Linked DNA regions of Homo sapiens: regions 1, 3, 4, 5 and 6 are each linked to region 2. Evidence: promoter capture Hi-C in 16 types of primary human blood cells and fetal thymus (Javierre and others, 2016). All regions are on one chromosome and are shown on one strand. Each heading gives the region's core, a stretch centred on a gene start or on the middle of the fragment in contact. The rest is flanking DNA. Distances are from core to core; before and after follow the strand shown. Region 1 overlaps UBL7-DT (UBL7 divergent transcript). Region 2 holds the start of COX5A (cytochrome c oxidase subunit 5A). Region 3 overlaps ARID3B (AT-rich interaction domain 3B). Region 4 overlaps EDC3 (enhancer of mRNA decapping 3). Region 5 overlaps EDC3 (enhancer of mRNA decapping 3). Region 6 overlaps C15orf39 (chromosome 15 open reading frame 39).

Region 1 (3,265 bases), core at 384-2,883, 470 kb after region 2:
ACAACAAAGATACAACATATGGCTAACATGAGTCCTCTTAAGAACCAAACCAAGGCAAGAGAACGGAACTATTCTAAAACCTGTAATTCAAAAATCAATCTTTACTGAAATAAAAAAAATATAAATTACATTTTGGAAGAGAATACCACATAACTGAGACTACTGACCTAAAACAAACAGCACCAAGATGTAGTCAGGTAAAATGACTGGAAATTAAACAAAAAATTTTAAAAACTACTTGGGCAACCTGGTGAAAAGAGCAAGTAACTTGTAAGGGAAAGAAAATTAGATTTCTGTCATCAGATGAAAATGAAATATCTTAAGAAAGAAAATGTGAGCCAACAATTTTATATTTAGCAAACTGATTTTCAAGCATAAAGGCCAGAAATAAACTGCTATTAATATGCAAAAGTTTAGGGAATATCATTCACAGAGAATATTGTAGTCCTTCCAGGAAATCCACTAAAGAACGGGTTCAGTAATAAAAACCACTGGGCCAGGCACAGTGGCTCATGCTTGTAATCCCAACATTTTGGGAGGCCAAGGCGGGTGAATCACTTGAGGCCAGGAGTTTGAGACCAGCCTAGCCAACACGGTGAAACTCTGTCTCTATTAAAAATACAAAAATTAGCCGGGCATTGTGCTACATACCTGTAATCCCAGCTGCTTGGGAGGCTGAGGCAGGAGAATCGCTTGAACCTGGGGTGGAGATGCAGTGAGCCAAGATTGCACCAATGTACTTCAGCCTGGGTGATACAGTGAGACTCTGTGTCAGAAAACAAAACAAAACAACAACAACAACAGCAACAAAAACCAGTGGAAAGCATTAAACATGGAATTCTGATTTTATTTATTTATTTATTTTTGAGATGGAGTTTCACTCTTGTCGCCCAGGCTGGAGTGCAATGGTGTGATCTCGGCTCACTGCAACCTCCACTTCCTGGGTTCAAGCAATTCTCCTGCCTCAAGCTCCCAAGTAGCTGAGATTACAGTGCCCGCCAGCACACCCCCACTAATTTTTGTATTTTTAGTAGAGAAGGGTTTCACTATGTTGGCCAGGCTGGTCTCAAACTCCTGACCTCAGGTGATCTGCCTGTCTCAGCCTCCCAAAGTGCTGGGATTACAGGTGTGCGCTGCCGCACCTGGCCTAAACATGGAATTCTTTGTAGTATTAAGAGAGTTAAAAAGAGGAAGGTAGAGTAATGAGTATAGGCTCAGATAATATACAGCACATCTGTTAAAATGGAGAGAATGAATGGAGGGGATAGAATGAGAAGGGCATATGCAAACATTTTTTTAAACGTCTCAATAATTATATTGGTGGTGATAGTATCATTAGTATTGTTATTTTGAGACAGTTGGGTATGTGATATGGGATAAAGGAAATGAAAATAGATATTTAAATACTGTTGTCCCTTATGTTCTTGAGAACTAGTATTCTCAGTGTGGAAGAAAGGAAATAAAGATGTAATATAGAAAATATTAAATTAAAATTCTGCAGTCTTACTTTGGGAGGCTGAGGTGGGCAGATTGCTTGAGTCCAGTAATTCAAGACCGGCCTGGGCAACATGGTGAAACCCTGCCTCCACAGAAAATACACAAATTAGCTGGGCATGGTGGTGCACAACTGTAGTCCCAGCTACTTGGCAGGCTGAGGTGGGAGAATCGCTTGAGCCTGGGAGTTTGAGGCAGCAGTGAGTCATGATTGCACCTCTGTACTCCAGCCTGGGCAACAGAGGGAGATCCTGTCTCAAAAAAAACAAAACAAAAAGCAACCCATAAAACCAAAAGCCAAAACCAAACCCAACCTCTGTAGTCTTGAATTTGAAGTAGCAGTATAAATATTCTCTATTTATATCTCTATGGATATAGATCTCCCCCTAGCTCCATCCACTAATGTGGCTTACAAGTAACAAACAATTCAGTAGCAATAAGCATCCCTAGTGCCCAGATTGTGGTCTTAATATACCATTTCCCACAGAAAACCATATGAATTTCTTGAAGAAATGGCTAATTTTTATGCCTAGGGCAGGAAGTACAAGATTAGCTAGGAACTCTTGTCATGCTAGATAGCAGGGAGCTATCAAAAACCTCCAGGGTTATGTCAAAAGGACTCAAGAATCAAGTTGAAGAGGAGGCTCCATTGTTATGGTACTGTATTAGTCTGTTCTTGCACTGCTATAAAGAACTACCTGAGACCAGGTGATTTATAAAGAAAAGTGCTTTAATTGACGCACAGTTCTGCAGGCTATACAGGAAGCATGGCTGGGGAAGCCACAGGAAACATACAATCATGGCAGAACGTGAAGGGGAAGCAAGCACATCTTCACATGGCAGAGCAGGAGAGAGAGGGCAAAGGGGGAAGTGCTACACACTTTTGAACAACCAGATCTCTTGAGAACTCACTGTCATGAGAACAGCAAGGGGGAAGTCTGCCCCATGATCCAAACATCATGACCTCCCACCAGGCCCCTCCTCCAACATTGAGGATTACAATTCAACATGAGATTTGGGTGGGGACACAGAGCCAAACCATATCAGGTACCATGAATGTCAACATGAGAAAATACAAGTATATTGTGGAAAATGAGAATCAAGTTTCCTACTATTGCAGAAGGGAGGTAAAATTATAGAGAAGAGGAAGACTAGAGGAAAATATGTGGTATTGGATTGGAATTTGAGGTATTGGTGTGAACTCATATTTTATATATACATATATATTTTGATATATGTGCACATATATATGCTCACATATACATAGATCTATATATACATATACACATCTATATGCACACATATTTAAATATATTTCATAGAAATATAGATGAATGGGTGTGTATATCAATATTCATTTATTTGCTAGGTCTAGTCACTGAAATAGACTGGAAATAATGACATCTCAGTAGCAATAAACACACCTAGCATCCAAACTTGGCTTCTAAATACCATTCCTTACTAAAAGGAACTAAGGCTCTTTGGAGAAATGAATGATGTGACAGATGTGAAAATCTATGACATAACTTATGAAAATGGCAGAGAGATGATCAGCCTCCACCCAACTGGAATGGTTGATGAAAGCTGAATGAGATTGTAAGTTACATGGTATTATTGTATTTATTAATTTCTTGATTTTGCTGGGTTGTACTGTGGCTGTGACATAGAATATATCCTTGTTTTCAGGAAATACAGAAATACTTTGGGTAATGTCTGTAATTGGCTCTTAAACGGATCGGGTGGAAAAACAAAAGAACAATATGCATAGTGA
Region 2 (3,372 bases), core at 569-3,068:
ATAGAAAGGCAAAGAGAAAGGTTAGAGCAATATTTTTAGGCTTTATGGCTGGCTTTGGGACAAAGGGGTTCTACTTTCTAGACCCCCTCTTGGGGAGGAGGGATTCTAGTTTCTGTGGCATGCCTGGAGGGAGAGTAAGGGGCAAGAGACAAGAGGGCAGAAGGTCAGAGAGAAACTGCTTCATAGGCCTTCACTTTGTGGTATTGTTTTCTAAGCCCCAGCACTAGGTTGGTGGGAAACGGTGAGGGCAGGTGCTTTGAAAACATTTTAAAAATCCTTTTCCCCGCCAGGTTCCTACCCACTGAAGCCACACTGCTAGGGAGGAAAAAGAGAAGGGCAGATGCTGAGGCCCTGGAGAGTCGGCCTGAAGTGAGGAAGTGGCACATGAATGGCCACCTTTTCTTTCCTCAGTGTGCCCAGGGATAGAGAATGGGAGACAGCAAGACAGAATACAATGTCTCATTAACTCTGGGCAGCATCCAGATACTTCAGGCCTGGGAGAGGTGTCCTTGACTGCCCAGGGGCTCAAAGTTAGGATGTAGCTAGTGAGATAAGATGCAACAACTGTGGAACTTGATCAACCCTATTTCAGAGCCATCGTGGATTCAGGAGCCCTCCTGTAGGAGATGGGAAACATTCAGGTGAGAGTCCTCAGAACTGGGGATGTGGCGAAAAGATCCTTGACTGCCAGCAGCAACCTAATTTCTGAGCCTCTTTCCTAATCTGTGAAATGAAGTAGTTTAACTCATTTTTTATGCAAGCTGGTTTGTGATATAAGAATATGTACTAATAAAATCCCTTACGCATAGGCCTTTTTTTTTTTTGAGATGGAGTTTTGATCTTGTTGCCCAGGCTGGAGTGCAATGGTGCGATCTCAACTCACTGCAACCTCTGCCTCCTGGGTTCCAGCAATTCTCCTGCCTCAGCCTCCCAAATAGCTGGGATTACAGGCATGCGCCACCACACCTGGCTAATTTTGCATTTTTAGTAGAGACAGGGGTTTCTCCATGTTGGTCAGGCTGGTCTCGAACTCCCGACCTCAGGTGATCCGCCCGCCTTGGGCTCCCAAAGTGCTAGGATTACAGGCGTGAGCAACCGCGTCCAGCGGCATTCTTTCCCCCATTCGCTGTTTTATTTTATGCCACAATGAGAAGGCGGGGCTAAGCAAAGTAGGTTTTTGTTTTGTTTGGTTTTTTTGAGACGGAGTTTCGCTCTTGTTGCCCAGGCTGGAGTGCAATGGCACCATCTCGGCTCACCGCAACCTCCTCCTCCTGGGTTCAAGCGATTCTCCTGCCTCAGCCTCCCGAGTAGCTGGGATTGCGGGCATGCGTTGCGCCACCACGCCTGGCTAATTTTGTATTTTTAGTAGAGACGGGGGTTCCTCCATGTTGCCCAGGCTGGTCTTGAACTCCCGACCGCAGGTGATCCGCCCGCCTCGGCCTCCCAAAAGTGCTGGGATTACAGGCATGAGCCACAGCGCCCGGGCGCAAAGTACGTATTTTTTATTATAGTTTGTTGTTATTGCTGTCATTCCTATTTTGAGGTGATTAAGTGCCCTCCTGGGCCTGACTCGAACAAGATCACGGTCGGTTGCTCCTCCCTCGCCTCCATTCCTACTTACAGGATGGCAGCTGCACGTCACCTGACCAGAGACAAGGCGGGACGCGAGGCTAACAGTTTGTCCTCAGCGCGCCGCCGTAGCCCCCGCCGCCGCCGGCCGCGCGGTGGCTCCTCCCGCCCACGCGCCAGAGTCGCAGTGGGCGGGCCTACGTGCTCCGCCCGCTGTGAGCCTGTCCGGCCCCCGCCCGCTCCGGAGCAACCCGCGAGCTTACACCGGCTTCTCTCTGTCCTCAGCCCGCGCGCCGCCATCGCCGTCATGCTGGGCGCCGCTCTCCGCCGCTGCGCTGTGGCCGCAACCACCCGGGCCGACCCTCGAGGCCTCCTGCACTCCGCCCGGACCCCCGGCCCCGCCGTGGGTAAGGCCCCTGCTTGCCACTGCCCGCGCCCTCGTGTCCTTGCGGTGACCTGGGTCCCCGCTGCCACTCCGGGGCGGGCTCTCCCCGGCCTAGCCCTTGCCCTACCCTGGTTACTGAACCCGGTGACCGCGGGCCGCCCTGCCCGCCGCCTCGAGTAGTGGAGGACCTGAAAGCGCGCCCCCGGGGCCTCCCCCCGCGCAACTTCCTGGCTGTGCCACCGCGGACAGGTCAGATGTGGACCTGCTGTGGGCGCCGAGGAGGGGACGCAGCGCTCCCCTTCGGTTCCCGGGCCATGACCCTGCCCCAGCGCCGACCCTGCGGCCACCTGACCGAGAGTGGCCGCCGCCGGCCTGCAGCGCCTCGGCGAAGGTGACATTGAGCCTCCGGGCACGCCGCTTGGGGTCCGAGGACACAATATACTTCCGTATGGGACACACGATTATACTTTTCAATCAGGCATTTCTCGGTTAGCGATTAGTGTGTCACCTTCACAGCCTTTTCCATCATTTTTAGGGTCTGCTGTGCCACGTTCTAATTCTTCCACGTTTAAAATAGATGGAAGTGTGTGGTTGTTTCCTGATCTCCGGAAGATAGCCAGAGTTTTGATAGGGCTTATGATAAAAATATCACTCTTTTGAAAACTGAATGTCACAGACACAGGAATACTGGGTTTTACAAGCATAGGAACGCTTCGTGTTTTTTCCCCTTTGTAATAGAAGCCTGATTGCTGGAGTATGAGACGTGCTTCTGATTTTTGTCTATTTTCCTTCCCTTTATATGTGTGCTGGGAGGTTTTGAGTCCACCACCATAGAATAATTACAGTAATTGCACTTCGATCTTGGTCCGTGAAATTTAGCTTCTATGCATGCATATTATATTTTATTTTTGAACCTGCATCACTGGCAACTATGCATGCGTATTTAAACATAAGAACTCAGAAACTCGTTTCAGGGTATGCTGAAGTTAAAAATTAAAAAAAGAACTCAGCCGGGCGCGGTGGCTCATGCCTGTAATCCCAGCACTTTGGTAGGCCGAGGCGGGCGGATCACCTGAGGTCAGGAGTTCAAGACCAGCCTGGCCAACATGGTGAAACCCTGTCTGTACTAAAAATACAAAAAATTTAGCTGGGTGTGGTGGTGGGCGCCTGTAATCCCAGCTACTCGGGAGGCTGAAGCACAAGAATCGCTTGAACCTGAGAGGCGGAGGTTGCAGTGAGCCGAAATCGCGCCATTGCACTCCAGCCTGGCCGACAGAGCGAGACTCCGTCTCAAAAAAAAAAAAAAAAAAAAAAGAATATGTTTTGCTTCATTCATTTTAGACTTTTATCATTTGTCGTAGAACCATAAGGCTGGAGGGTACTTTATTTTTGTTTATTTATTTATTTTTAAATTAGAG
Region 3 (3,230 bases), core at 324-2,823, 390 kb after region 2:
CCCTACTCCAGTCATGGCAATCAAAAATGTCTCCTGACACTGCCAAATGTCCCCTGGGAAGGGGCAGGGGTCACCTCTAATTGAGAACCACTCAACTAGATGGATTCCATTGTGACTGCAGAAGGCAAGGGCATGCAAGGTAGCTCTATAAAGAACATGAGGAAAGCCTACGAACATTTTCTTTTTTGGGCAATACTTTGCACAGTTTTTTAAAAAAGCCTCAAATGTTCCATAGTCATGCTGTATCTTTTCTTTTTCCCTTTTTTTTTTTTTTTACACCATCTCACTCTGTCATCCAAACTGGAGTGCAAGTGGCATGATATCGACTCACTGCAACCTTCGCCTCCCAGGTTCAAGTGATTTTCCTGCCTCAGCCTGCCGAAGTAGTTGGGACTACAGGCGTGTGCCACCACACCCAGCTAATGATAGTCATGCAGTATCTACCAAGAAAAGTAGGCCTATCCCGGCCGGGCGCAGTGGCTCACGCCTGTAATCCCAGCACTTTGGGAGGCCGAGGCGGACGGATCACGAGGTCAGGAGATCGAGACCATCCTGGCTAACACGGTGAAACCCCGTCTCTACTAAAAATACAAAAAAATTAGCCGGGCGTGGTGGCGGGCACCTGTAGTCCCAGCTACTCAGGAGGCTGAGGCAGGAGAATGGCGTGAACCCCGGGGGGTGGAGCCTGCAGTGAGCCGAGATCATGCCACTGCACTCTAGCCTGAGTGACAGCGAGACACCGTCTAAAAAAAAAGAAAAAAAAAGAAAGAAAAGTAGGCCTATCCCAAGGGACTACACCTTAATTAGAGGGATGGCTTCTGGACACCAGTCAGTCAGTCATGGCATTAGAAGAAATGGACAGTAGTCTCCACTAATTGCCCAGCAGGAAGTCGACTCTCACGGTAAGATGAGATTGATTTTGCTCATGGTTAAGAATAGGCAAAAAAAACCCCAAAAAAACAAAAACAAACACGAAACTCCCTCTTCTCAAATCACATTCCCTTTGTCTCTCCCAGTGCCCATCTAACATGGCAATTCTTCCCATTTGTCATGGAGCTTCCTTTGCTTCTGTACTGCAGAAGTGCTTCTCCAACAAATTCAGAGAGAACCCACGCTGTCATGAGCTGAGGGTGCCCCAAGCGGCTTGGAGGTGTTTGAAATTGGTAATACCCTGTCCTTGTTAACACATGTGATTAGCAAGCTTTAGGACGTTAGGAATTCTTTAATTGCAAATATTCTGAAATTAAACCCTTCCATCCTAGAAGGCAGTCACAAAACAAAATCTTGTAAAACATGCTAGAAGGGGAAGGGTAGAGGAGGGGGCCAACATTTATTGTGCAATGGCTCCCAGTGCTTTCAACTGAATTGGCTGTGAAAGTATGTTAAGCCCGTGGTTGGATCACAGCCACATGCAGTAACCAAAGCGACTGCCAAAGTATGCAGAAAATCGGACACATGCACCCTGGCCCCACATGCCTGCCAAGCCATCTTTCTTCTTTCTATTCTATCGAAGGGGGTCTACACCCTTCTAGTAACCTAGCTCTACCAATGGGCTCAAGACAGACCCAGCCTGTACTGCTTGAACCACCTTCTACCAGAGGGGGAGAACACCACCCCCAAAAGGCCAGCAACATCCCCTAGTTGGCTGTATGATCTCCTTTGAGAAAAGGAACACTCAGTTCTTTGTCTGTTTTCTTGTTTTACAATTATTTACTCTGCCCATAGGAATCTGATGGGTTTTAGAACACTTGGCTCAATGGCGTTATCCATCTTCCCATCACTGTGGTGTCAGAGAATAATACCACACCTTAACAATCCAGGCCTTGAGAAGCAAATATTTTCTAAGAGTTTCTTCAAAGAGAATCCACGAAATAATTTTGACTTTACATGTTCTAAGTAAGGGATTTCAGATGCAAAGAATAATCTCTGGAACCCTTAAGCTTTCCCAGTTTCACTTTTCAGTTAGCAGATGCCTGTCCTCCCTTACCCCAAAATCTTGCAAAATACTTCTGAGTATTCCTGTTGGTTTGCCAAGCTATGCTATGCTGTAGACAAAATTAACTTTTTAAACTTTGGCATGTGAATGTTTGAAACAAAACTCTGTTTTAAAATATCTCTGCCATAGCAGACTGGGTGGCTGGGCTCCAGTAGACTCAGGACAGAATCAAATTATTGTAACCCAAGTTCGAATCCCCCTTGAGGTTCCCACACTGCCACCGCTAGACCTGAACTCCCTGAGAGAGAAACATGCCTTGTTTCATACAGCACAGGTCTGGCACAAAGAAGCCTCTGTAAAAGTTTGTTGTTCAAAAGAACAAGATGGACACTGTATCACATTAACAATAAGATCTGTGTCAGGGTAGGCGCGGTGGCTCACGCCTGTAATCCCAGCACTTTGGGAGGCCAGGACGGGCGGATCACTTGAGGTCAGGAGTTTGAGACCAGCCTGGCCAACATGACGAAACCCTGTCTCTACTAAAAATACAAAAAAATAAATAAAAATAAAAAAATAAATTAGCCAGGCATGGTAGCATATGCCTGTAATCTCAGCTGCTAGGGAGGGTGAGGCACGAAAATCACTTGAACTCAGGAGGCGGAGGTTGCAGGAAGCCGAGATCGCGCCACTGCACTCCAGCCTGGGCAACAGAGTGCGCTCTGTGTCGGCGGGGGAGGGGGAAGGCGGGGGGGAAAGATCTGTGTCAATTGTAAAGGTCTTTGTAATTGTTGCTGGAGCAAGGGATATTCTATTTTTGCACTCCATTAAGTTTCATAAAGTAAAGATTTTGAACAACAAAACAAGCTAGTCTAATGATCTGTAATGGTTTCTATAGGCTCTCCCCAAGAATATTATTATTTTTGGCCCTTCTAAAATATACTAAAAAAAAAGTTTTAAAATCCCCAAGCATATGATTTACTCCTTTAAAATCAGGATTTATAGAAAAGGAGAGCACAGATCAAATCAATGTTAAAAATTAAAGGGGAAAAGGACGTGCACATCTGACGGTTTAAGTCATTGCTACCCAAAGCCCCCCAGTTCAGTTCTTGATCTCCAAATCCTGGGGGAAGGTAAATTTTGGGTGAGGGATTATACCTCAGCTACTGTGGTATTTATAAAACATTTTGGCAGGTGCTCTGCCAAGCAGTCTATAATTAGTGAATATGCCTCAGAAACATAAAGTGAACGCAAAGAGTTTCAAATGCCAACAGCCAGCCCCCTGAATACTGAGCTA
Region 4 (3,669 bases), core at 292-2,791, 280 kb after region 2:
AAAAAAAAAACAAGCTGCTGAACTGTGTCAGTCTTTTGCTGGCAGATTCTGGTAGGCATGCCTGTTTATTAAGGTGGTTTCCTTAAGTGGCAGTGACAGTGACACTGTAACTTGCCGAAGTCCTTCGATTTTTAACACCTGTGTAAAGGCAAACAGCCTAGCTCAGAATCGGGTTTAATTTAAATTGCTAGGTTTTAAGCCTTTCAAAGGCAGTTATCATCTGTTAAGTCTGGTACTCCTCCAGATCAGCCAACTATCTACCTCTGACTGCTTCCTTTTTTACTGCCCTCTTTGTAAAAGAAGCTGCTCCTGCTGCTAGCTCTCTATATCTGTAGTCCAAGTGCTGCTGCTGAGGCTGTTGGTTTATGCAGCGTGTGATTTCCCTGGAACTATTTACACTGCAGGATTTTTTTTTTTTTTTTTTGAGACGAAGTCTCACTCTGTTGCCCAAGCTGGAGTGCAATGGCGCAATCTCTGCTCACTGCCAACCTCCACCTCCTGGGTTCAAGCGATTCTCCTGCCTCAGCCTCCTGAGTAGCTGGGACTACAGGTACACACCACCATGCCTGGCTAATTTTTTTGTATTTTTAGTAGAGATGGGGTTTCACTATGTTGGCCAGGCTGGTCTTGAACTCCTGACCTCGTGATCCACCTGCTTTGGCCTCCCAAAGCGCTGGGATTACAGGTGTGAGCCACCGCGCCCAGCCCTACACTGCAGGATTTTTTTAACTTGGGAAGATTATGATCTGCCCTGGAGTCAAGTGGCTAAGAGTGAGAATAACAGTGAGAATCAGGGAGAATTCTCAGAACTAACAGAGCATGAGAAAATATTTACTAACATGGACAAAAGCAGAGGTAGAAATTTTTTTCTGCTACACACTCTGGCTCCCCAACTTGATCTTCACACTTCTTTTGTTTTTAATGACTGAAGTGAAAAGTTCTGTCATATAAAATTATTTTCCTATCAATAAACATACCACAAACCACATGTGCTGGTCCTTAGCCAGAAACTTGGGTGTGGCGTCTTGTGGTATGTAGTGACCAGTTGCACTCCACTGGTTCATGACAATGAGGGGGAAAGAAGCCCAGCAGCTTCATGCCATCTGGTTTTTCTCTTTGTTCTTAACAGTGACAAGGAGTGGAAAGGAAGCCCTTTTGCCAAGCAGCGTCTGTGCTGGAAATAGAGCAAGCAGGCAGTTATCTTACTGAGCAACTTCTTCTACAGGGGGGTTTTCTCTGTGTTCGAGTTCCAAGGCACAATCCTCAAGCAGGTTTTCACTGAGGGGCAGTCAGTGCAGAGCTGGGGACACTTTCTCCATTGGATCTGCTATCCAAATGTTTGGATCAAAAAAGGCAAACTAGAATATATAGGGAAACAGTCTAAAAGCATAAAATGTTAGTGTTAGGTTAGTTGATCACCTAGTATGATTTTTTCATTTTACAGATGAGGACATGAGGCCCAGAGAGGTAAAGGTTTTTTTTTTTTTTTTGGAGACAGAGTCTTGTTTTGTCATCCAGGCTGCAGTGCAGTGGCGTGATCTCAGCTCTCAGCGCACCGCAACCTCTACCTCCCAGGTTCAAGCGATTCTCCTGCCTCAGCCTCCTGAGTAGCTGGGATTACAGGCACCTGCCACCATGCCTGGCTAATTTTTGTATGTTTAGTAGAGACGAGGTTTCACCGTGTTGGCCAGGCTGGTCTCAAACTCCTGGCCTCAAGTGATCTGCCTGCCTTGGCCTCCCAAAGTGCTGGGATTACAGGCGTCAGCCACCACGCCCAGCTGGTAAAGGGTTTTCCATTGGCCAGGTGCAGTGACTCATGCCTGTAATCCCAGCACTTCGGGAGGCCAAGGTGGGAGGATTGCTTGAACTCAGGAGTTCAAGACCAGCCTGGGCAACAAAGTGAGACCCTGTCTCTACAAACAATAGAAAACATTAGCTGGGCACGGTGGCATGTGCCTGTAGTCCCAGCTACTCAGGAGGCTGAAGTAGGAGCGTCTGAGCCCATGAGGTTGCGGCTGCAATGAGCCAAAGTCATGCCACTGTACTCCAGCCTGGGTGACAGAGTCAGACCCTGTCTCAAAAAAAAAACACAAAAACCTTACCCATCACATCTCCTTTTCTCTTCTAAATGTGAATAAAAATGAGGAAAAGGCCAGGCGCAGTGGCTCATGCCTGTAATCCCAGCACTTTGGGGGGCTGAGGCGTGTGGATCACGAGGTCAGGAGATGGAGACCATCCTGGCTAACACGGTGAAACCCCGTCTCTACTAAAAATACAAAAAAATGAGCCGGGCATGGTGGTGGGCGCCTGTAGTCCCAGCTACTTGGGAGGCTGAGGCGGGAGAATGGCGTGAACCTGGGAGGCGGAGCTTGCAGTGAGCGGAGATCGCAGCACTGCACTCCAGCCTGGGTGACAGAGCGAGACTCTGTCTCAAAAAAAAAAAAAAGGAAAAATATAAGAAGAGAAGGGCAGTTTAATGGCAAATAGACTACAGATGATCCTCCAACTTACAATGGTTAGACTTATCATTTTTTGATTCTAGGATGATGTGAAAGCAATAGTCAGTAGAAACTGTAGTTGAAATTATTAATTTAGATCTTTTCCTGAGCTAGCGATATGCAGGTATGATATTCTCTAATGCTGGGCAGCAGCAGGAGTCAAAGCAGTCAGCCGTGCAGTCATGAGAGTAAACAACCAGTATTCTACAGTGTACTGTTTTGCCAGATGATTTTGCCCAACTGTAGGCTAGTGTAAGTGTTCTGAGCAGGTTTAAGGTAGGCTAGGCTGAACTATGATGTTTGTTTGGTAGGTTAGGTGTATTAAATGCATTTTCAACTTAGATATTTTCAATTTATGATGGGTTTATTGGGATAACACTCATTGTAAGTTGAGGGACATCTCTGTAGTCTTTTCTTTAGTACTGCAGTCTCTCAGGAATGGACCAGCAGTTTACAGAAGTAACTTGGAGAGCTCCCGCAGTCTGGCCTTGTGGCATTCATGTCCTAGAATACCAAGTACTTTTGTACTAATCCCCATGGTAGCAAAAGAACAACATATTTATTACCCATTTGGTGATGGCTTGGGATTTAGGATTCTGACAGCTTGCTGCTGGTGCCCTATATATTGACTTCATGCTAAGTGGTGTCAACCAACAGTACATAAGCTATTATTCACTAATTGCTCATACTCCTCTTGGCAGTACTCTTTGCCAGCTGTGTGTGTTGTGATGGGGAACAGTGTTGTTTTAGGTCTATTGATTGGGAAAACACATTCAGGAAGCAACTAAATTTAGCTCTTTGTTTAACCCCAATTTTTTCTCTCTGGAAATTCCTTTCAGGTTCTTTGGCAGGGCTTCTGTCTCCCGCAGTCACGGATCATCAGACATTTCTCTAGCTTGGGCCTGCCCTGCTAAATAATGGTGTCCAGTGATCACACTCTGGATTGGCCAGGGTCTTTCTGGATCCAGACTTGTAATTTGAAATTCTTTGAAGACTGATTCTACGTGCATGTGTTAAGTTTAAATATAAAACACTAGATGTGTGTGAGCACTCTGTGTTCAGTGGTGAGAACTCCCCAAAGAATACTGCTTAGTAAAGTGGTAAGGCTTCAGAGAAGAATCTTTATTCAACACTCATAAGATTCTTTTTTTAATTTTTTTTTAAATTTTAT
Region 5 (3,228 bases), core at 595-3,094, 310 kb after region 2:
GACCCATTCCTGTGAGATAATGAGTACGAGAGGGGACAGGCTTGCTAGAGTAGAATGAGTAGGCCAGCTGGAATAGAATAAGCATGCTCTCACCTGCTCACCCTTCTTGGGTCAGCAGATAGCAGTCAGCTCCTGTTTTTGCTGGACCTGAGTGGGGTTTCCCTGTGATGGCCACCTTGACAGTGGACTCTGCCTTCCCAGAGGTCATAAGGTGCCCAGGGCATTAGTTGGATATACAGAGGCATGCCTGAGAAGGCAGAGGAGGTGAGGGCTTTGTGCCCTGAGAAGCTCTGCACACTCAGGACGACAATGGTTCATCCTGAGAACTCCAGGAGGGCAGTGGTCTGCTGGGCTGACATGCACTTGGTCTCTAGCACTCAGCCCAGCCAGCTTGCAACTCCTAGGGCCTGTGCCCTGGCCCAGCTTTAAGAAGGCCAGCCTTTGGAGAGGCATTCGAGTGGTGTCTGGAAAACAAAGACACCCTTGGGGTGACCTGGGCCCTAGTCCCAGCCTGGGCTGCTCTCTGCTCATAGGGACTTTCAGATGGCACTCTTTCCACCTGCAGATCTGCCCACTAGCCCTGTGGACCTGGTCATCAACTGCCTGGATTGCCCTGAGAACGTCTTCCTGCGCGATCAACCCTGGTACAAGGCAGCTGTGGCCTGGGCCAACCAGAACCGGGCACCAGTACTCAGCATAGACCCTCCTGTGCATGAAGTCGAACAGGGCATTGATGCCAAATGGTCACTGGCACTGGGCCTGCCTCTGCCACTGGGGGAGCACGCAGGCCGTATCTATTTGTGCGACATTGGCATTCCCCAGCAGGTCTTCCAGGAGGTGGGCATCAACTACCACTCGCCCTTTGGCTGCAAGTTTGTTATCCCACTGCACTCTGCTTAGAGGGTTCCTGCGCAGGCAGGACTCTGCTGTCCCCTGCTGCTCCTGATAACAAACGCCTTAAGGATATGAAGCTTCATGGACCTTGTTAAAGTTTTTTCTCTTTTGGGTTTGTTTCTTCTGTGAGAGAACAGAACTTACTTAAAACTGACCTGTCACTTGCTCTTAGCCAGGGAAGTCTTTCCCACTGGGTTCCGGGCTGGGTGGCAGGCTGAGCGTGCAGCAACTCCAGGCATCTCTACCCTCAGCCCCCTGCACGGCCAGGTGGGCCTTTGTTTACAGCCGTAGGCAGCTCTCAAGACTGTGTTTCAGGTTTACAGCCACTGGGCCTGGGCACACACATTGAAGAGTGGGCCAGGTCCTGTCTGGGGGCCTGTACCTGCTCTATTTCAGAGCTTGTGGCTTTGTGTCTCCCCTGCTTTCCCCACGCAGACAGCCCTTCCTCTGTAGAACCAGCTGCACGGCAGCTGTCCACCAGAGGGCAGACCTGCACTCTCCATTCATGTCCAGGGCTGTGACAGACCAGGCCTTCCCCTAGCCCCACAAGTTGATTTGGGGGGTTTTGACCCTTACTCCTGAGCTGATCCAAGTTTTATGCTGATTTTTCCAAGGATCTCTCCCTCCTTTTCCCTCCATCACTCAGAGGTAGGGAAGGGGGCGGCATTAGGATGGTGTTACTGTATTGGGATTTTATGTTGTTCTGTCGTCTTCAGCACAGGTAGTATAAGGTTATATTACTGTAGAACCACAGTGCCCATCTTGCCAGCAGTGCCCGCCCCCACCCTCAAAGCTGAGCAGGTTGAGCCTTTGCCTAGTCTGGGGCCAGACCCCTCAGATGGGGATATCCCTGGGGGAGCCTGGTGCTGAACCAGAAGAGGCTTCCTGGTGCTTCTGTCCTAGGCCACCACTCCTCCAGCCCTTTGCCCGCACATACATGCCCCACCTACTCTTTCATCCCCTCTGCCCTTCCCCTGAAACGGTCCTTTGCAGCTGTCATCCCAGAGCAGGCAGATGGGCTCCCGTGCTTGAGCTCCACCCCAGCTCTTACATCATCTGGGCTTTGAACCTTTTACATTTGTCCAGTCTAGATGAGTAGGCTTGGGGCCAGCACCCTGTCTCAAAGATGGCAAAATGAGGCTAGTTCTGGATGAGCTAGCTGGTGTGGGTTCCAACCATAGGAACACACTGATGCTCAAATCCTAAGGTGCCAAGCTCTAGGCCCTGGAGGCTGGTAGAACAGGATCTATGCCTGGAATCCTGGCAGGGATTCCTGTCAAGGACTTGTGTTTAAGCCTGCTTCAGGGCTTCAGGCTGCTTCTGCTCTGTGTCTGCCCAGGCTGGCTGAGCGGGTGGATGGGTGGACAGAAGGGCTCACCAAGGATTGTGGACATAGGGTAGGCCCTGGTACCACGGGTTTCAGGCTGTTATCACTTCCCTTGTAGGAACATAGCCAGAAGCAGATGAGCCAGGGTAGAGGGCTGGCCCCTCCTCTCATCTTCCCTTCAGTCTTAAATTGTCTCCAGCGATGGGAAGAGGCCAGGGACTGTAACCCTTGTGCTGTGTATTCTCTGAGCCTCTGCTCACTCTCAGGGCCAAGCAGCTCCCAAGCCGGGGCCCTCTCTTGGCCAAAATCTGAGGAGCAGTCTAGGTTACAGGCTTTTTGGTAGGTAGGTTCTGGCTGCCTGTTAATGCAGTTAGGCCCCCTGATTAGGTACAGTGAGAAACAAGCTAGAACAACCCTGGCCCAGAAGACTGTCCACTCCAGCAAGATCCAGGGATGATAGCCTTGCAGGGCCACTGGGAGTTTGTGCCCAAGCTTCTCCCTCTTCTCTCCCCAGGGGGCACTGGGACTGGTCCCTGCCCTCATCCTTAGCCTGGGCCTTCCCCAGAGGTATTAAAGAGAAGTATGATTCCTCTGTCTTCAGTTCTTTTCAGGGGCATCCTGCCCATAGTACCCAGTTCCCAAGGGGCCCCCAGTCACGTGGTGAAGCCTAGCACTCATGCAGCTCTTAGGGAACCAAAAACCAGCACTGAAATAAAGCTGAATGACTGACTGAGTCCTGTGCCGTGTGACTTGCTCTGTAGGCTGTCATGAGGTGCTGTCTGTCCCAGCCTAGGAACCCGCCCCACTCGTCTCCTGCCCTCAGCAGGCCATAGTTGTTGGGCACATACAGCCTAAAGTCCTGGCCAGTAATGGGACTGGCAGGCTGTGGAAAACCAGACCCCACCTGGCTAGCCACGGTGGGCTGATTCCCTTAGGTTCTCTGGGGCTGAGAGGTACAGAAGCCAGCAGGGCAGAGGTGCCATCTAGGACTGCTCAGCAGCCTGGGC
Region 6 (3,539 bases), core at 900-3,399, 270 kb before region 2:
CCTGGAGAGGGTGCTGGGAGAGGGGCAGAGGGGTAGGGGTAAGCGTCCAGCCCCAGTGGGGGAATGTAAGGTGCCTGGGCTGCCTGCTGCCTCAGGTAGGGGCTGCCCAGCCCACCAGCCTGGTACCCGGTCCCCTTGTGGCCCCCCAGAGGCTGCAGTGGGAGTGCTGGGCTGTAGCTGCCCTGCTTCTCTGGGTGGCGACAGGCTGGAGGGCAAGGCAGGGCCTGTGGAGGGTGGGGTGGTGGGTGGTGGGGTGGTGGGTAGTGGGTGGGCCCGGTGTCCTGACAGGGTGGCCCCAGGGGCTGGGCCAGCTGGGTCCAAGGACTTGAGGGCCCCTCAGACATTGCTTGCTTGGAGTTCCTAGGGTAAGGACCTGTGTACCTGGAGGCCAGGAAGCCCGTGCTGTGGATGGTCTGATATTTCTCCAGGAAGGGCTGGCATGGGGAGAAGCTCCCTGAGGAGTCTTTACTGGACCCCTCAGCTGGCACCCCCCGCAAGAAGGTGCCATCCAGAGTCTGGCCCTTGCTAGGAGCTGGGGCCAGAGAGCAGGGTGGGTCAGCTGAGGGCAACAGGGGCCCAGTCGCCAGAGTCCAGTCAACATCCAGTGGCCTCTTCACTGCTCCTTCCCCCAGACAAGTTGAGAGCCCATAGCACAGAGGGTTGCGGTAGACAGGTTTGGGTGCTGCCAGTGGTGGGCCTGGGTAGGAGTGAGCCTGGGGACTGAAGGGCAGGAGCTCAACAGGGCTGGAGTCCTGCATCTTCTCAGGGCCTTCTGCTGGCGAGCGGTAGAACAGGCAGTTGGTCAGCAGGTTGTCTGCCTGAAGTGGGGGTCCTGCCATACCGGTAGAGTACAAGGGTGGGTATGGGGTCCAGGACGCCAACTGCTCAGACTCGGCCTTAGGAGTACCTGCCATGGGGCAGGAGAAGTAGGACCCCTTGTAGGTGCAGGGATCCTGGTTACCAACAGAGTGGGGCAGGCTGTGCTCGAGCCCGGAGTCTGTCTCTAAGCGGGGCAGCTTGCCATACATCACAGGCCCCAGGGTTCTCAGGGGTCGCTTCTCTGCCATCGCTGTGAAGGCTTCGAGCCCTCCTAGGCCCCTGCTACTCAACTTCTGACCTGGGATAGAGAGAGAAAGGCAGGGGCTGTCAGGAAAACAGGCTACAGGCAAAGCAACAGAGGGCTGCTGCTCTCATCAGCTCACGGCTACACCTAAGAACCTGGCGCTTAAATGATGCTCAGTTAAGACTGTGAGTGCATGAGCCACGTGACAGAGGTTTCCAACTCGTGTATGTATTTTTTGAGGCAGGGTCTCACTCTGTTGCCCGGGCTGGAGTGCAATGACATGAACTTGGCTCACCGCAGTCTCAACCTCCTGGGCTCAAGTGATTCTCCCAACTCCCAGGTTGCTGGGACCACAGGTGCCTGCTACCACACCCGGCTCATTTTAGTATTTTATGTAGAAACAGGGTCTTACTATGTTACCCAGGCTGGTCTTGAACTCCTGGACTCATGTGATCCTCCCATCTTGGCCTCCCAAAATGCTGAAATCACAGGCATGAACCACCTACTGCTCCTGACCCCAACTCGTATATTTTAAGCTGCAGAACCCTTTGTTTAATGAATTATTCTACACAGAACCCCCACCCATCCCCACTCCAGGAGCCCCTTCTGTTCGATTTTCCTCCATACAACTCCCAAGATCCCCTCCTTCTTGGGATTTCAGAATTTGTAGGGGCACTGGGTCTCAGGGTCACTTGACATACCCTGCCGCCACCCCCTCATATACAGATGAGGAGACCCATTCATCCCAAAGTCACCAATGAAATAGACACAACGAGAAGCAGGCCTCCTGCCTCCCACCACAGGGTCCTATTCCAAGATGCCACAGTGATGCCCACTGCAGCCAAAACATGGAATCTGAGTATTGTCTACAAATTCACAGATTTCTTGTGACACTCCTCTGACCTGCTGATCTTGTCAAAAATGGCAGAGTCGGGCCTCCAGCCCAGGTCCCTAGGCCCAAAGCCAATGCTGAGATACTGGACTTGGCTCTGGAGAGCAGTCCCCTAGGAGAGGTAACTGGGGACATCAGTCTGTACAAGCCACACCCCTCTCGCCCCACTCCTCCCCCTCCGCAGGAGTCAGGGCAGCCCAGCAGATGGTGCTGCAGCACCAGCAGGAAGGTCCCAGAGCATGAGGAGCCTGGATCCACCCCCAGCCCCCAAGCTGCAGATGGCGATTCCTAGGCACATGGCAGGGTGGGGCCAAGACAGCGTCAGGGGCGTGTGTGAAAGTCCAGGGAGGTGGCTAGGTGCTGTGGCTCACACCTGTAATCCCAGCACTTTGGGAAGCCGAGGTGTGCGGATCATTTGAGGTCAGGAGTTCAAGACCAACCTGACCAACATGGTGAAACGCTGTCTCTACTAAAAATACAAAAAAATTAGCCAGGCATGGTTGTGCATGCCTGTAATCCCAGCTACGCTGAAGGCTGAGGCAGGAGAATTGCGTGAACTCAGGAGGCAGAGGTTGCAGTGAGCCAAGATTGTGCTACTGCACTTCCAGCCTGGGCAGCAGAGTGAGACTCCACCTCAAAAAAACACAAAAAACAAAAAACAAAACAAAAAAAAAGAAAAGAAAAGAAAAGAAAAAAGTCCAGGGAGGGAGGCCCCAGGGGCCAGAGTGCTACTTAGCCACTACTCCCATTGTATTGATGGAAAAACTATGTGCTGAAAAAAGACAAAGCTCTAAGACAAGACCAAGGAAGGATGGGGACTGAGGCCCCTCAGGGCAGCAGGCACCCAGTAACCCGTTAGGGGCTCATCTGAAGCCTGTCTTCTGGGGCCACACTGACCTACCTCTACCTCCCCCAGCCAGCACCCTATTCCTGGAAACTCTCAGTAGCTTAGAAAGGACCACCTAGCTCAATCTTGCTATGATTAGGGCAAAGTGTCACAGGTTTCAGTGACTGGCAAGCAAGGACCAGCCCTCTCCTTGCCTCTTCTGGTTGGAGCCAATGACAGCCACAGGCTGAGTTAGACCGGCACATTTTGGGGTTAGAAAACACAAGGCTAGTGTGGGGGCCAATGCCCACTTCCACCAAGGCAGACCCAGAAAGCAAGCTGGTTCATCTCCTGGACAGAACCCCACACCTCAGGCCAGCCTAGAGAAGACACAGAGGGGCCATTAGGACACAGGTGACAGTCCCAACAGCAGTGTCCTATGATAGAAACCTGCTATCGAGGGGTGAAAGCCCCCATCTCACTCCACAGCAATGCTGTGAGAAGGAACTGTAGGGTTTTGAAGTGTGGATCCTCCCCACCTCCACCCTTGGGACACTCTGGGTTAAGTACTGACTTTGGTCTCACCTCCCCCACATGCTTCTTGGGGTCTGCTGGGTCCCCACCCCCACCCCAGGAGTCCCTCTCTCCTGGGTCTCAGCCCATGGAATACCCTTTGCTCTGGAGACTTCTTGAGGCCCCTATCTGGGACCCAGTCAATAGACAGGAAACCACCTGGGACCCTCAGGAGTCTTTGTGGG

What was found. Contacts are between HindIII fragments. The CHiCAGO score rates a contact against its expected background, and 5 or more counts as called.
Region 1: a contact is called between a fragment that was not itself captured here and the fragment with the promoter of COX5A in region 2, in 1 of 17 cell types (neutrophils). The highest score is 5.8, in neutrophils.
Region 3: a contact is called between a fragment that was not itself captured here and the fragment with the promoter of COX5A in region 2, in 1 of 17 cell types (non-activated CD4 T cells). The highest score is 6.6, in non-activated CD4 T cells.
Region 4: a contact is called between a fragment that was not itself captured here and the fragment with the promoter of COX5A in region 2, in 3 of 17 cell types (non-activated CD4 T cells, naive CD8 T cells and M1 macrophages). The highest score is 5.7, in non-activated CD4 T cells.
Region 5: a fragment that was not itself captured here is called in contact with the fragment with the promoter of COX5A in region 2 in 9 of 17 cell types (total B cells, total CD4 T cells, naive B cells and 6 more); the score reaches 9.6 in total B cells.
Region 6: a contact is called between a fragment that was not itself captured here and the fragment with the promoter of COX5A in region 2, in 3 of 17 cell types (M0 macrophages, total B cells and naive CD4 T cells). The highest score is 5.8, in M0 macrophages.

Annotation. Positions count from the first base shown.
Region 1 is chr15:74,463,517-74,466,781 of GRCh38, reverse strand. It overlaps UBL7-DT (UBL7 divergent transcript), which reads right to left. Exons shown (of 4, transcript NR_120377.1): 2 at 652-746. Among named protein-coding and RNA genes, the nearest start is that of UBL7-DT, 3.9 kb to the right of the region's middle. The HindIII fragment of the contact is 6,794 bases long and covers 1-3,265 here.
Region 2 is chr15:74,936,519-74,939,890 of GRCh38, reverse strand. It overlaps COX5A (cytochrome c oxidase subunit 5A), which reads left to right and starts at 1,818. Exons shown (of 5, transcript NM_004255.4): 1 at 1,818-1,976. The coding sequence starts at 1,877. RefSeq lists a silencer at 1,565-2,124. The HindIII fragment of the contact is 6,406 bases long and covers 1-3,372 here.
Region 3 is chr15:74,546,610-74,549,839 of GRCh38, reverse strand. The region is part of intron 2 of ARID3B (AT-rich interaction domain 3B); the gene reads right to left. Among named protein-coding and RNA genes, the nearest start is that of ARID3B, 7.0 kb to the right of the region's middle. The HindIII fragment of the contact is 739 bases long and covers 1,204-1,942 here.
Region 4 is chr15:74,651,009-74,654,677 of GRCh38, reverse strand. All of the region lies in intron 4 of EDC3 (enhancer of mRNA decapping 3), which reads left to right. Among named protein-coding and RNA genes, the nearest start is that of CLK3, 37 kb to the right of the region's middle. The HindIII fragment of the contact is 9,021 bases long and covers 1-3,669 here.
Region 5 is chr15:74,630,284-74,633,511 of GRCh38, reverse strand. EDC3 (enhancer of mRNA decapping 3) reads left to right here. Exons shown (of 7, transcript NM_025083.5): 7 at 566-2,954. The coding sequence ends at 900. Among named protein-coding and RNA genes, the nearest start is that of CLK3, 16 kb to the right of the region's middle. RefSeq lists enhancers at 1,212-1,361, 1,422-1,481. The HindIII fragment of the contact is 1,742 bases long and covers 974-2,715 here.
Region 6 is chr15:75,203,577-75,207,115 of GRCh38, reverse strand. C15orf39 (chromosome 15 open reading frame 39) reads right to left here. Exons shown (of 3, transcript NM_015492.5): 2 at 1-1,117. The coding sequence starts at 1,067. Among named protein-coding and RNA genes, the nearest start is that of C15orf39, 3.5 kb to the right of the region's middle. The HindIII fragment of the contact is 6,893 bases long and covers 1-3,539 here.